Linked DNA regions of Homo sapiens: regions 1, 3, 4 and 5 are each linked to region 2. Evidence: promoter capture Hi-C in 16 types of primary human blood cells and fetal thymus (Javierre and others, 2016). All regions are on one chromosome and are shown on one strand. The core of a region is centred on a gene start or on the middle of the fragment in contact, and the rest is flanking DNA. Distances in the headings are between cores, read along the strand shown. Region 1 holds the start of CNTF (ciliary neurotrophic factor). Region 2 holds the start of MED19 (mediator complex subunit 19). Region 3 overlaps ZFP91 (ZFP91 zinc finger protein, atypical E3 ubiquitin ligase). Region 4 has its middle 16 kb from the start of OR5B21. Region 5 overlaps LPXN (leupaxin).

The links. Contacts are between HindIII fragments. The CHiCAGO score rates a contact against its expected background, and 5 or more counts as called.
Region 1: a contact is called between the fragment with the promoter of CNTF here and the fragment with the promoter of MED19 in region 2, in 5 of 17 cell types (total CD8 T cells, naive CD8 T cells, total CD4 T cells and 2 more). The highest score is 13.3, in total CD8 T cells.
Region 3: a contact is called between a fragment that was not itself captured here and the fragment with the promoter of MED19 in region 2, in 2 of 17 cell types (naive CD8 T cells and naive CD4 T cells). The highest score is 8.1, in naive CD8 T cells.
Region 4: a contact is called between a fragment that was not itself captured here and the fragment with the promoter of MED19 in region 2, in 7 of 17 cell types (naive CD8 T cells, naive CD4 T cells, total CD8 T cells and 4 more). The highest score is 19.4, in naive CD8 T cells.
Region 5: a fragment that was not itself captured here is called in contact with the fragment with the promoter of MED19 in region 2 in 3 of 17 cell types (total CD8 T cells, naive CD8 T cells and total CD4 T cells); the score reaches 7.1 in total CD8 T cells.

The regions. Positions count from the first base shown.
Region 1 is chr11:58,621,290-58,623,989 of GRCh38, reverse strand. It overlaps CNTF (ciliary neurotrophic factor), which reads right to left and starts at 1,325. Exons shown (of 2, transcript NM_000614.4): 1 at 1,124-1,325. The coding sequence starts at 1,237. ZFP91 (ZFP91 zinc finger protein, atypical E3 ubiquitin ligase) reads right to left here. Exons shown (of 11, transcript NM_053023.5): 11 at 2,440-2,700. It overlaps ZFP91-CNTF (ZFP91-CNTF readthrough (NMD candidate)), which reads right to left. Exons shown (of 13, transcript NR_024091.1): 12 at 1,124-1,224. The HindIII fragment of the contact is 9,454 bases long and covers 1-2,700 here.
Region 2 is chr11:57,710,826-57,713,525 of GRCh38, reverse strand. MED19 (mediator complex subunit 19) reads left to right here and starts at 1,311. Exons shown (of 5, transcript NM_001317078.4): 1 at 1,311-1,563. The coding sequence starts at 1,347. TMX2 (thioredoxin related transmembrane protein 2) reads right to left here and starts at 933. Exons shown (of 8, transcript NM_015959.4): 1 at 719-933. The coding sequence starts at 907. It overlaps TMX2-CTNND1 (TMX2-CTNND1 readthrough (NMD candidate)), which reads right to left and starts at 1,003. Exons shown (of 21, transcript NR_037646.1): 1 at 719-1,003. RefSeq lists a silencer at 1,341-1,680. The HindIII fragment of the contact is 3,048 bases long and covers 1-2,700 here.
Region 3 is chr11:58,604,128-58,606,827 of GRCh38, reverse strand. The region is part of intron 2 of ZFP91 (ZFP91 zinc finger protein, atypical E3 ubiquitin ligase); the gene reads right to left. The region is part of intron 2 of ZFP91-CNTF (ZFP91-CNTF readthrough (NMD candidate)); the gene reads right to left. Among named protein-coding and RNA genes, the nearest start is that of CNTF, 17 kb to the left of the region's middle. The HindIII fragment of the contact is 3,636 bases long and covers 1-2,700 here.
Region 4 is chr11:58,522,989-58,525,688 of GRCh38, reverse strand. No RefSeq gene overlaps it. Among named protein-coding and RNA genes, the nearest start is that of OR5B21, 16 kb to the right of the region's middle. RefSeq lists a silencer at 799-1,093. The HindIII fragment of the contact is 3,138 bases long and covers 1-2,700 here.
Region 5 is chr11:58,547,764-58,550,463 of GRCh38, reverse strand. LPXN (leupaxin) reads left to right here. Exons shown (of 9, transcript NM_004811.3): 6 at 318-491; 7 at 597-678. Among named protein-coding and RNA genes, the nearest start is that of LPXN, 27 kb to the left of the region's middle. The HindIII fragment of the contact is 2,737 bases long and covers 1-2,630 here.

The DNA of each region.
Region 1 (2,700 bases), core at 76-2,575, 910 kb before region 2:
CAGTGTCCTTAAATCACCCCTAAATTTCATACAAAATCTCACTCATCTCTCTGGCCAAGGATCCAAGTTGTAAAGTAAATAATATGTCTACAGTAGGAACTCTTAATTTGGGCTCTATGACTGGACTTTAGAAAGACCCAATACTGCCTGAAATTGACTACCTATGGATTTTTCTTAGAAGAATGTTCAGATTTTATTGAGTTCTAAAGGTTGAAAACTGATTTAGAAGAATTTTTCCTTCTCACTTCAAACTCTCTCATTAACTGGAATATTTTAATCATATTAAAGTATTTTTAAACATACTTGTAAAAGACACTGGCCACAACTAGGAAAACTTGGAATATAGCCATTGTAGAATTTCTCTAACTTCCCTCTCCCCATTGAGCACTCCCAAAGAGTCTGATTTCTGTCTGGTGAGGCTGTACAAAGATAAATCAGTTCTCAGCCTAAATTCAAAACTCTCCACAGGGGTTGGAGTATTTCCACAGCATATCTCAGGTGGAAATTGATGGGGATCCCCTTACTGTTAGAAGACAAATCTGGAACTCCAGAATTAGCTCAAGAATTTGACACTTCCACAAGTTTCCAATGAATCTTCTAGGAGATCCTTTTGATAGCTTACCTTTCTCTTTAGACACAATCTACTTTTGATGCAGAATACTAAAAGGTGGGTGGCTAATGCTATATAGGAGAAATTGGTAGGATTTACAAATTCCTCCCACGTTCATAGTACTCTTCCTATCCCATAAACCTTTCATTTACATAGCTAAAAAATTCAGAACAATGGCTATGAAGAACCCAGAGGGCCCATGGCTAATCTGTTCTAGTAGTATTCAGAATATATGCCAATAAATTTGGAATAGCCTCCAAGACATATAAACCAATCCTTTCTAGAACTCCATATATATTTTCTCATTCAAGTAACTTCATCTCCTAAACAGCCCAGAGGAAGAAAATAAAGTCACATGGGTTTCCTCAAGGGAAGGGCCCATGTCAAATAACCTATATGAATGACTATATGATTAGAGCTTTCACAATTGGTAATGGAGCTGATGCGTGATGGTAAGTTGCTGGATCAAAAAAGATGAAGGGAAAACAGATAACAGCAAAATAGGCAACTTACATAGGATTCCGTAAGAGCAGTCAGGTCTGAACGAATCTTCCTTGCTAGCCAGATAGAGCGGCTACAGAGGTCCCGACGGTGAGGGGTCAGCGGTGAATGCTCTGTGAAAGCCATCCCTTAACTCAACTGTCCCAGGAAACAAGTCAGCTGGGTTTACTTCTGTCTATACTGGTCCAAATAAGAGATGTGACTCTCAAAGACTAAACCCACTGGGCATTCTCTACTAATGGGATTGTGCACCCCACCCCCACGCCCTGCCTGACTCAGAGGAGGTAGCAAATTCCTGGCTGTGGATTTTTGTGCCTGTGGAATCAAAGGGCCCTTTTTAATCAGATTTTTTTTCCCCTGCAGCGTCTGCCTCCATCTCTCTCCTCCACTCAGTACTTAGCACACTTGTTTCTATGTCATTGTTTTGCTTTTGCACTTAGCAACAAGGTCACTATCATACCAATCCTCATGGCACCCCTGCCTAATGTAATCTATCTCACACACTTAGAATTAGTTCATTTTATTATCATTCTCCCTTATGCTTCCCATGTCTTTTTTCTCATAGGCTGGCGAAATGTTCATTCAATAAAATTGTTATTGACACAGCTGCCATTTATTAAGTATCTACCATGGGTCAGTCAGTAAGCTAAATACTTTAAAGCAATTCCATTTGATCTTCAGAATATTTCTGAGGTAAATGTTATTTCTCCATATAAGAAACTGAAACTTCAAGAAATAACATGCACAAAATCAAGTAACGAGGCTTGAATTTAAATAGAAGTCTGATTCTATAGTTGTCTCTCCCACTGACTTTCCAATTTCATTTTCTGTTTAGGTAGTTCACATCTTGTTCAAGAAACAAAGGGTGTGTGAAGTCCTTTAAAAACAGGATTTTTTTCACTCCTAACCTTACGTACTTTTTAAAGGTAATTTAATTTATACTTAAAAATCAAGCAAGGAAGCATCTCTAATTTCAATCACGGTGCCTTCCTGGTAGCTACATAGGAGGAGGAAGGTACTGTTTAGGCCTGTTCTCTTCCAAAGAACAGGAAACACCCAACGCTAACTTGGTAACATTTCTAAAGCAGTCTCACTCAAGTGACAACATGCTTTCCTTTTTTCTCCCCTACCCAGTCATACCACATGCTTCTTAAAATAAGAGAATGAGCTGGGCTTTGAAATGACAGTATAAAAGTTAAAAGGTACTTGGAGGGTTGTCATTCTATTGCATTTAACTTAGAAAATGATGCTTATTGGGTAAGGGCTAAATGAAATAATTAGCTTTCATTATTTATATCATAGATATTGCCAATAAGCTGAAACACATACCATCTTAGAAGCAAATTTATAAAAGTAAACAATAAATGGGAGATGTAACAGAGCAGCCTGGGCAGCTATCACAGCATGGCTTTTGGAAGGCAGAAGGATTATAGTTTTTTCTTTTTTAAAATAAAAATCAGTACTTGATATAAACATTCAATTTTGAGAAGAAGTATTAATATTAAATGCTATCAAGGTTTTGTCATTATCAGGGTAAAATTAACCTCACATAATCCTTAATTTTCCATCTACTAGGTTAATTAACATAT
Region 2 (2,700 bases), core at 62-2,561:
GTTCCGAGCAGTCCCTCCACCCATACCAAGGAAGCACAGCAAGGAGCTTGGGACACTTCCCAAAGAAATCCCAAAGATTTCTTTACAACGTATTTTTTACAATTCCTTTACAGTAGCCCCCAAATTTTATCCACTTTCGCATCTTCAGGATCAAGCAGAGTGCCTAGAGTGTACACTCTAGAAATGTTTATTGAATTAAGAAGCGGCTGACAGTGTTGTGCAGGTAGTGTGGCCAGAAGAGTAGTTTCAAGTCCCAGGCACTCATTAGTTGTATGACCTGGGGCAAGTCACCTAAATATACCGAGATCCATTTCTTCACCAATGAAACAGGAATATTACTACTTGCCTTGTCTACCTTACTGGCTCCTCAGGAGGCTTTACATAATGAGCGGCACTGTAAAACGTTATACACGTGTATGTACAGTTTTGATAGGGCTGTTAATTAGTCTCAATGGTGAAACAGAAAGAAACCTGGACTCAACAGTCAAAAGCTGTTGGGCCGTTGTGCATGGGCTACGACTAACATGTTCCGTTTTCCCATCTTAAACACAAAGTTTAGACTCGATGATGGTTCGGACCCTGCACTTAATAGTCTCTAAGTCCGCTACAGGCTCGGAACCTCAGGTGTCCTCAGAGAGGTAAACCCCAGGGTTCCCAGATACACCTGCAAGGGCAGGGACAGTCAAGGTCGCGGGGTACTAACACGCGGGAGGCTCACCCAGTCAAAGTCACACGGGTTACCGTCTTCGCGTTGGGTGGGCAGACCGTGGCAGAGCGGCGGCAGTTTCCTCACGAGTAGGAAGGCAGCAGAGAGCAGGGCCGACAGAAGGTAGTAAGGTTGGGCGAGCCATCGTGAAAGTCGCGGCACCGAATACACGAGAGCAATTAGAGGTGCCAAGACCGCCATCTTTTCGGCCGTAACGGCCACTGCTCGCCGGCGTCGTAGGTCTCGCCCCGCCTCCCCCACCATAACGACTGCTATTGGGCTATATCGCAAACGTACGGCCTCTAAACCCGGATGTAGTTCTCTGAACGCTGTGGTAGGTCAGAACCCAAAAAAGAACTTAATATTTTATTGGTTAGTCTAGTTGTCGCTTTATCCGCCTAAGTCATTTTATTGGACTGTAGCAAGCAGAGCTAGCAGAAGACTCTAATAAGGTTAAATAGCACTTCCTGAACGTTCTCATAAGGCGACGGAAGTAGTTGTTGAAAAAAGGTAGGCGGTGCCTGAGGCATCCAATGACAAGCGGCTCCTTGAGAAAGGGCGGGGGGGTACTCCTTGAAAGCATTGTCCAATGAAAATTACCAACGGCAGACACGGAGACAGCGCCGGGGCGGAGGGTACGATGGAGAATTTCACGGCACTGTTTGGGGCTCAGGCTGACCCACCACCGCCCCCAACCGCACTCGGCTTCGGACCAGGAAAGCCTCCACCCCCGCCACCGCCTCCTGCGGGCGGGGGACCCGGCACGGCCCCGCCTCCCACCGCGGCCACGGCTCCTCCTGGCGCGGACAAGTCAGGAGCTGGCTGTGGCCCTTTTTACCTCATGAGGGAACTGCCAGGTGAGTACTCGGCCTTGCCAAAGCCAGCCAATCAAATCTTAGAGAGGAGGTGATGGGCGTGGCTCTCAGCCGGCTAGCGGAGGTGCGAGGTAACCTAGGCAACGCATACCCGGACTGTGGAGCCCTAAGTCGGAAGCGCTGTTAGGATTCACAAGCAGAGGGATGACTTGAATTCAACCAGGATGAGTTGAATTCAACCAAAGGGATGAATGGCGGGCAGGGGCGTAGTGCATCTCCGTTACTGTCTTTTGCACCATGTCCAGGCTGTGTCCCTGACACTGGTTTATGTCTCTCTAAAAAATGACCTAGGGCTGGGCGCGGTGGCTCACGCCTGTAATCCCAACACTCTGGGAGGCGGAGGCGGGCGAATCACCTAAGGTCAGGAGTTCGAGACCGGCCTGGCCAACATGATGAAACCCTGTCTCCACAAAAAACACAAAAATTACCTGGGCGTGGTGGCGTATACCTTTAATTCCAGCTACTCGGGAGGCTGAGGCGGGAGAATCGTTTGAACCCCGGGAGGCGGAGGTTGCAGAGAGCCGACATTGCTCCACTGCACTCCAGCCTGGGCGAACGAGACTCCGTCTCAAAACAAACAAAATCCAGGGTTTGAGTTTGGAACTCGAGAGGCCTGATTTAATATCTTTGGGGACCCAAAGTTTTAGTTACAGGTCTCCCACAGACTTGCTATTGGTTTGGGGCAAGTTGCCATTCTTCCTTCTAAGGTTCCGGCATTTCCTGGTCTGATCAAAAAAGGGATAAGAATCGAACCAAACTCTTCATTCAAAAAATTATTTTGTTGAGTACCTATGTACCAAGCACTTTTCTAAATGCTGGAGACAGTTGTGAACAAGACTGACAAGATGCTTGCCTTTTTTGGGATGTACATTTCAGTGGAGGAGGCATTGTAAACAAGATAATGTCAGAAAGTGGTTAATGCTAGGAAAAGAAAACATGATAAAAATTGAAGGTGGCCAGGCGCGTTGCTCACGCCTGTAATCCCAGCGCTTTGGGAGGCCGAGGCAGAATCCCTTGAGCCCAGGAGTTTGAGACCAGCATGGGCAACATGGCGAGACCCAGTCTCTACAAAATATACAAGATTAACCGGGCGTGGTAATGCATGCCTGTAGCCCCAGC
Region 3 (2,700 bases), core at 31-2,530, 890 kb before region 2:
AAAAGCCAAGTGAGCACTGAATCAAGAAAAAGGTGAGTAAAGATGTTTAAGGAAATCTGTCAAATCACTTGATGAATATAAGCGAAAGGACCAGAACCTTTAGAGACCACAGAGACCAAAGTAGGAGCTAAACATTAGGTACTCATGGACATAAAGATGGCAACAACAGAAACTGGAGATTATTGGGGGGAGGTTGAAAAACTATTGGGTACTATGCTCAGTACCTGCATGATGGGATCATTTGTATCCTAAATTTCATATCATACAATATGCCCCAGTAACAAACCTGCACATGTACCCCCGAATCTAAAATAAAAGTTGTAAAAAACAATGTTTAAAGAACTAAAGACAATCAGAGCTAAAGAAAATCACTGACAAAGTACTAAAGGAAATCAGAAGAAATATGTCTCGACAAATACAGAATACCAATAAAAAGATAACTATAAAAAGGAACCAAGAGAGGCCGGGTACAGTGGCTCACACCTGTAATCCCAGCACTCTGGAGGGCCAAGGTGGGCGGATCACCTGAGGTCAGGAGTTCGAGACCAGCCTGGCCAACATGGCAAAACCCCGTCTCTACTAAAAATACAAAAATTAGCTGGGCTGCTTGTAGCAGCGCATCCCTGTATTCTCAGCTACTTGGGAGGCTGAGGTAGGAGAATCACTTGAACCCAGGAGGTGGAGGGTGCAGTGAGCCGAGATAACACCATTGCACTCCAGCATAGGCGACAAGAGTGAAACCACACCCCCCCCACAAAAAAGGAACTAAGAGAAAAAAATTCTAGAGCTGAGAAGTATAATAACTGAAATTAAAAATTCACCGCAGACTTGAAAAACAAGAATCAGTGAACTTTAAGCTAGGCCAACAGAGATGATCCAGTATGAAGAATATAAAGAAAAAAAGAATAAAGGAAAATAAAGCCTAAGAGATCGTTTAGACAACCATTAAGCATGCCAACAGATGCATAATAAGATTTGCAGAAGGAGAGGAGAAAATGAACAGAAAGAATATTTGAAAAACTATTGGGGAATATAGTCTGTACAAACAAGAACTTTACCTAACTCCTAGTAGGATAAATGAAAGAGATCCCCACCTAGACACATTATTATCAATCGGTAGAAAGACAAATACAAAGAACCATAAAAACAGCAAGAAGTGACTCATAAGCAACAAGGAATACTCAACAAGATTAACAGCCGCTCATCAGAAACCATGGAAGTCAGAAGGCAGTGTGATAACAAAGTGATGAAAGGAAAAAAAAAAATCGTCAAGCAAGAATTCTATAGCTGCCGAAACTATTCTTTAAAAACGAAGATGAAATTAAGACATTACCAGAAAATCAAAAACAGATTATCACTAGTAGATCTGCCCTATAAAAAATGCTATCAGGAATCCTCTAAGATGAAATTAAAGGACACTAGAGAGCACTTAAAGCCATAAATTAAAACACTGGCATATTTTACAGAGGCAAAAATATGATATTGTACTTTTGATTTCTAACTCCTTTTTCTCCCTACATGATTTGAAAGACAAATGTACAAAATAGCAACTGTAAATTTATGTTAATGGGCATTTGACATCAAAACATACACTTTGCAACAATAACATAAATGGTGAGGCACAGAATAGTACAGAGCAGAGATATGTTTACTACTGAAGCTAAACTGGCATTAAACTAGATAAAGTTTAAAGTACTAAATGCAATCCCCAGGTAACCCCTAAGAAAATAAAAATATACAGAAAATGAAAAGAGAAGATGGTACACTGCTATATATCTGCAACACAAGGAAATACAAAGAAAATAAAGATCAAAATAAAAGATATTAAGACAGGTAGAAAACACAAAGCAAAATGGCAGGCCATTCTTATCGGTAGTTTACACATACATATAGTGTGGAATTAAAAGGTACATATTAGCAGAATGGATTAACAAAAAATACAACCAATCTACAATCTGTCTACAAGAAACTCACGTTAGACCTGGTTGTCCAATCTTTTGGCTTCCCTGGGCCACACTGGAAGGAGATGACATGTCTTGGGCCACACATAAAATACACTAATGATAGCTGATAAGATAAAAAAATTTAAAAAAGAACTCATAATGTGTTAAGAAAGTTTACGATTTTGTGTTGGGACACATTCAAAGCCGTTCTGAGCCGCATTCAGACTGCAGGCCATAGTGGACAAGTTTGCTTTAGATCCAAAGACACAAACAGGTTCAAAGTAAAAGAATGGATTAAGATATTACATGCGAATAGTAAGCAAGAGAGAGCTGAAATAATGTATTAGTCTACCAGGGCTGCTCTACCAATCACAACAAACTGGGATGTCTTAAAACAACAGAAATCTATTCTCCCATACTTCTGGAGGATAAAAGTCCAAAATCAACACAATAACAGACCACACTCCCTCTCAGACTCTGAGAAGAATCATTCCTTGCCTCTTCCTAGCTTTTGGTGGTGGTCAACAACTTGGCTTATAGCTGCTAACTTCAATTCTATCTCCATCATCACACGGTGTTTCCTCCTGTCCCATGTGTGATGTCCTTATTCTTATAAGGACATCAGTCATAGTGGATTAGGGCCCATTGTAATACAGAATAACTCCATTATAACTTGATTACATCTGCAAAGATCCTATTTCCAAATAAGTTCATATTTACAGGTATTAAGGGCTAGGACTCAACACATTTTTGGAGG
Region 4 (2,700 bases), core at 69-2,568, 810 kb before region 2:
TTTCTTGCCAAACTTTATTATATCTATGTCCTTTGTTGGAATGGATAATAAGGGGGTTGTGAGAGTTACAAGGAATTGGCAACAGTTAATTCTATAAAATAGGAACTCCAAATGCATGTAAGATATGTGGGAGGCCACACAGATACGGAACCATCTGGCCTCTATCCTGTTTGGCTGTCTGAGAGCGCCAGACTATGCAGAACACACATTCAACTTTTAAACATCCTCTTTGCAATGTCTTCACTCAACGATGTCACACGCAGGTGTTAATATGGCAATGTTCTTGGTTGCCTTGGCAATTTGACAAAATAAACTTGGAGTTTTAGCCCTTAAAAAGAAATGTACAGGTGCTAAAACTTTTTTAAAAAGGATTAGCTATTTTGAGATTCAATAGAATTTAACTATTTTTAAATGTCAAAGAAAATCCAGAGTTCACTAAGATGTAATTAAGAAGTGAAAACACTTTCTTCCCACATTGAACGGAAGTGGTTTTATTTGCTCAAAAAGAGATACTGACTTCAGGACCAGTGTTTTAGCAATAAGGAAACTACTCACAAGTAAAAAGTTCTGCTTTTTAAAAACCCTGGAAATGCCATTACTAAAATTGATCACGTACTTATTTACTTTTGGTTTTGAGTAACTTCTAGGATGTTTAAAAAATAAAACCCACCCTCACAGGACAGGGATTTTCCACCAGTGAATATAAACATATAGAAAGGAATATGCTCTAGAGTTGGCACTGTATTCTCAAAGGGGAGTCCCTCAATTAGTTTGGTCAGTTTTTCTTTGAAGTAAATTTAGTCTCTTCCAAGGTAATACTTTGATAAAGACAACAATTATTTTTCCATCCAAGTTCTATCACACACTCTTCTTGGAGTTGTAGGATGGCTGCCAGCGCATGCTTCTTGTTTCATAACCAGTAGGGGGAGCAAGAGTGCTTTTATCGAGCATTTGCAAGCAAAAGTTCTGGGATTCATCCTCACTGGTCTAGCCTAGGTCACATACCAGTAATTTTTGCTGGGGGAATGGATTCTGCAGCTTGGCTTAAACCAAACTGAATTATTTCCAAAGTTACAAGCAGGACTAAGTTTCCCGAAAGCACAAGGGCTTTGTGGAGGAGATGTGAATACTTTAAAAGCTGGATATTGGTAAGAAGCGGGAAGAGGACAATGAATCTTGAATTCGTGTGTTCAAAAGTGAAAATATTGGAGTTTCTGAGTTTCAAGGTAATGTAGAAGGTAAGCAAGCAGGCATTGTCAGTATCCTGAGGGATCATGTCCAAGAACTTTACAGAACCCAAAGGCAGAGGAGAGAGCCAGGAATGCTGGTGTCCTGAGGAACATGCGGCAGTGGCACTGCTCTTCCTGGGCCCCTAGGGGCGCACCACTGAGAAGCATCAAAAGCACCTTCAGTTTGGCAGTCTGGAAAAGGAGATCTTGCAGCTGAAATCAAGGTGAGAAAGAGTAGCAGCTTCCTTTAGAGGCGAGTGTCTTAGGCATAAGCACGTCCTCAATAAGGCAGTGGTGGCAGCCACTGAAATATGACACTGAAAAAGAGATTGCCTGTCCCCAAAATATTGTGGAGGTTGTGTTACTAGGTACCATCAGTGCAGCACATTAAGTGCTGGGAACACAGAGCTCAGTGGGGAAATGGAAATCTCTTGGGATCCACAGGATAAAAAAGAAAGAAATCTCAGGTAAAAGCTGGTGCTTGGGTTGTACTTGTTGCAAATTTATAACTTTGCCAGAAGGCAGTGTTGTCTCAAATTTATAAGAAAGGAGACAGTTTATGTAGGACATTCCCCTACCTTAGATATAGTCAGCGTATAGTGCCTAAATTGATTTTCCGTGGGGAGAAGTCTCCTAACTGTGTTTAGGTTCATAGACCATGGATTACGGACAATTGCATAAACTTCCTGGCACCCTGTTGAGAGCCATCCATCTTCCCTTCCTATTTTGGATATCATTAAATCACAATAAATACTGTATTATGGGAATAACATTTTTCCTGGGATAAGTACCTCCATTCTAGCGAGAGATATCTCAGATCACAGGTGTTACTGGAAAAACTCCTAAAGCTGAAAATGAACAGACCAAGGAATCAAAGAAGGCTTTACTTTCTCTAAACTTTAACTTAGAGAATTTGATTTTGGATTTTAATGTTTTTGGACTTTGATATGCTATGTTGAATAATATTATTGGATATAATTGAGGATGGGACGTGAAATGAAAGGGGAGTGAATTTCTGAGCTGTTTTTCCCCACAGTCTAGTTTCTCCACAAAGAACTGCATCTCCCATTCTTGGTCCATGTGTTTAGGCAAGGCTGACTTTAACCTCAGCCTCAGAAATAGGTACAGTCCCAGGTCTGACCAATAAAAGTACTTTGTTCTTCTGAAGGAAGGTGATTGGATCAGGGATAGACATGTGACCTCAGCAAAGCCAATGACCTTTACTAGATTTATTCAGAAAGAACATTCCCATTCGTTGGAATTCTAGTTGTGCGGATAATAAAAACCCATTGCTGCTGATAAATATTTTTATCATCACTTGGGGGAGGCTGTCTGAGAAAGAGGCCAGCACAGTGGAACGTAGAACCAAGTAATGGAGAGGCTGTGTTTTCTTTTTTTGAGCCACTCAGTTCTACCATAGCAGCATCTTAACCATAGACTAGGAAATTATGTGAGCAAATAAATTCTCTTT
Region 5 (2,700 bases), core at 13-2,512, 840 kb before region 2:
AGTTACAACTTCTCTGTCATCAATGTGCTATATGTTGTTTCTGCCACCCCCTGTGGCAGTGCAGTGGTTGTGAACATTTACAGGCTTTCATCACAGTGATCAGTCCCGGAAGTGGGCATCCTTTTATTATCAATCCATAAAGCACAGACCACAGATGGCCTTAGGTGGAACCTAGGTCTAGGCCTCAGTGTTGTATAATTCCAGGGCGTGTTGTCTACAAGGGGTACAATGTGAAGAGTGCTCCCTAGAGTTGTGCAACCTGTAGGCTGTAGAGCACTCAACTGGCCTCCTGTGTCAGGCTTTATTTCACTCCACAGGTGATCCATGCTCTAGGGCAATCATGGCATCCTGAGCATTTTGTCTGTACTCATTGCAAAGAAGAGATTGGCTCCAGTCCCTTCTTTGAGCGGAGTGGCTTGGCCTACTGCCCCAACGACTACCACCAACTTTTTTCTCCACGCTGTGCTTACTGCGCTGCTCCCATCCTGGATGTAAGTAAATCCCCGCTCCTCTCCAGCTTTCAGTCACTCACTTAGAACCAGAGTCATGCTTTACAACTTCTGCATCATTATAATATCTGTGTGTTCCCTTTCCAGAAAGTGCTGACAGCAATGAACCAGACCTGGCACCCAGAGCACTTCTTCTGCTCTCACTGCGGAGAGGTGTTTGGTGCAGAAGGTATGACCCGACTTGAGAGGCTGTATCCCACACCCCAGTGGGTAGTTATAAGACCAGCAACACCTTTCCTGGTAGTCACGGGAGTCCTGGTTCCTATCAGTACTATCAAAGTGCCCATTTCAGTACTAGATACCATCCCTCCCTACCTTTCTCCAACATTTATAATTTCCCTTTAAATTGATTTTTTAAATCACAGAAATACAAATGCATAGTTTAAAAACTCAAATATTACTTCAAGGGTAATATTGAAAAAGCCTTTTCTTGTTGAATATTGAAAAAGTCCCTTTCTCATCTCCAAATCCAGTTCTCCTCTCCAAATTATTTTAGCTGTTTCTTCTGATATTTACTTATTTTTTGTTGTTGTTGTTGTTTGTTTTTTTGAGACGGAGTCTCACTGTGTTGCCCAGGCTGGAGTGCAGTGGTGCGATCTCTGGTGCGATCTCCGCCCACTGCAACCTCCACCTCCTGGGTTCAAGCGATTCTCCTGCCTCAGCCTCCCAAGTAGCTGGGACTACAGGCACTTGCCACCACACCCGGTTAATTTTTGTATTTTTAGTAGGGACAATGTTTCACCATATTGGCCAGGCTGGTCTTGAACTCCTGACCTCGTGATCCGCCCGCCTTGGCCTCCCAAAGTGCTGGCATTACAGGCATGAACTACTGCGCCTGGCCTGCTTATGTGTTTTAAATAATAACTTTATATTGTTATAGATTGTTTTATTTTTCCAGTTTTAACCATTATGTATTGACTGTCTAAGAGGGAAGATGAGGTTTAGAAATGTTATTATTACCCCACTCACTCCTAACATATTTCCCCTCCCCTGTTTTTTCAATATATAATTATGTCATAATTACAGGTTAGATCAGTATTAAGTGTGCATATGTTGACAATCATAGAATACTGCTCACAAGTAAGCCATGTAGCAAACTGACTACACTAGAGTCTGGATTTTAGAGTCAGACTTCCAGGTTCAAATCTGGGTTGTGGTATTTGTTCAAGTCATTTAACATCTCTGTACCTTACTTTCCTCATCAGTAAAATAGTCCTAATGAAATTGCCTACCTTATAGGGTTGTTATGAGGATTTAGAGACAATACAAGCGTGGTATTTAGAATAGTGCCAAGCACATGGAGGTATAGTAGTGTTAATATTATTATCACAGTGTCCTTTTGGTATAAATTCATTTTTTTCTAAAGTTAACATTTGAATCCTTTTTGAAATTGGCTTAGTTTTTATTGTACTTATCACTAAGTTATGCAACAGAACTGTGAAATTCTTTTCAAAATGGCCAACTACATCTGGCAACAAGTCAGTTTCTTTCTTTTCTTTTTTTTTTTTCTGGAGATATCCCTCCAGGAGACTTTCCTCCTCCTGATTCAACATGAAATGATTTCTTCCTGCTGAGTAGCAGTCATTCTGGTTCATTAACTTAGAATTATATCTAGTAATTACTCTTGGAAATTCCTTTTATTAGTTTCCTCTTTGGATGCTCTGTTTCCTGGGTCCCATGTCTATGTTTTATACATGTTACCACCTTTATTTTGGTGGGGAACATCCCCTAGTAGCTTTCTGAGAAAGAATTTTTGAGAACTTGAATATCTGAAAATATTTTTATTCTGTCATTGCCCTTAAGTTGCCTGGGCATAGAATTCTAAGTGGAAACTATTTTCCTTCATAATTCTGAAGACATTGCTTCACTGTCTTCTAGCTTCCATGATTGGCAAGTTTTTATTAAATTTTTTTTATCCTTGATCCTTTCTACATGACCCATTCTTCCCCCTTTGTATGTTTGTTTCATGTGTTTTCTGAATTGTCTTGTTTTTTTTAATTTCTCCTTTTTATGTTTGTTTTGAACAAATATGGAATCAGAAAGCTGCTTTACTTTGTTTTTCTCCTGTCCTTTTAGAATGAACTCAGTGGGGAAGGATTTCTCCTCTCATAAATAAAAGCTTGTGCAGTCCTCTGTCTTTTCTGATTACTGTTAAAAAACAGTTCTAAATATAAAATCAATTTAAGAAACA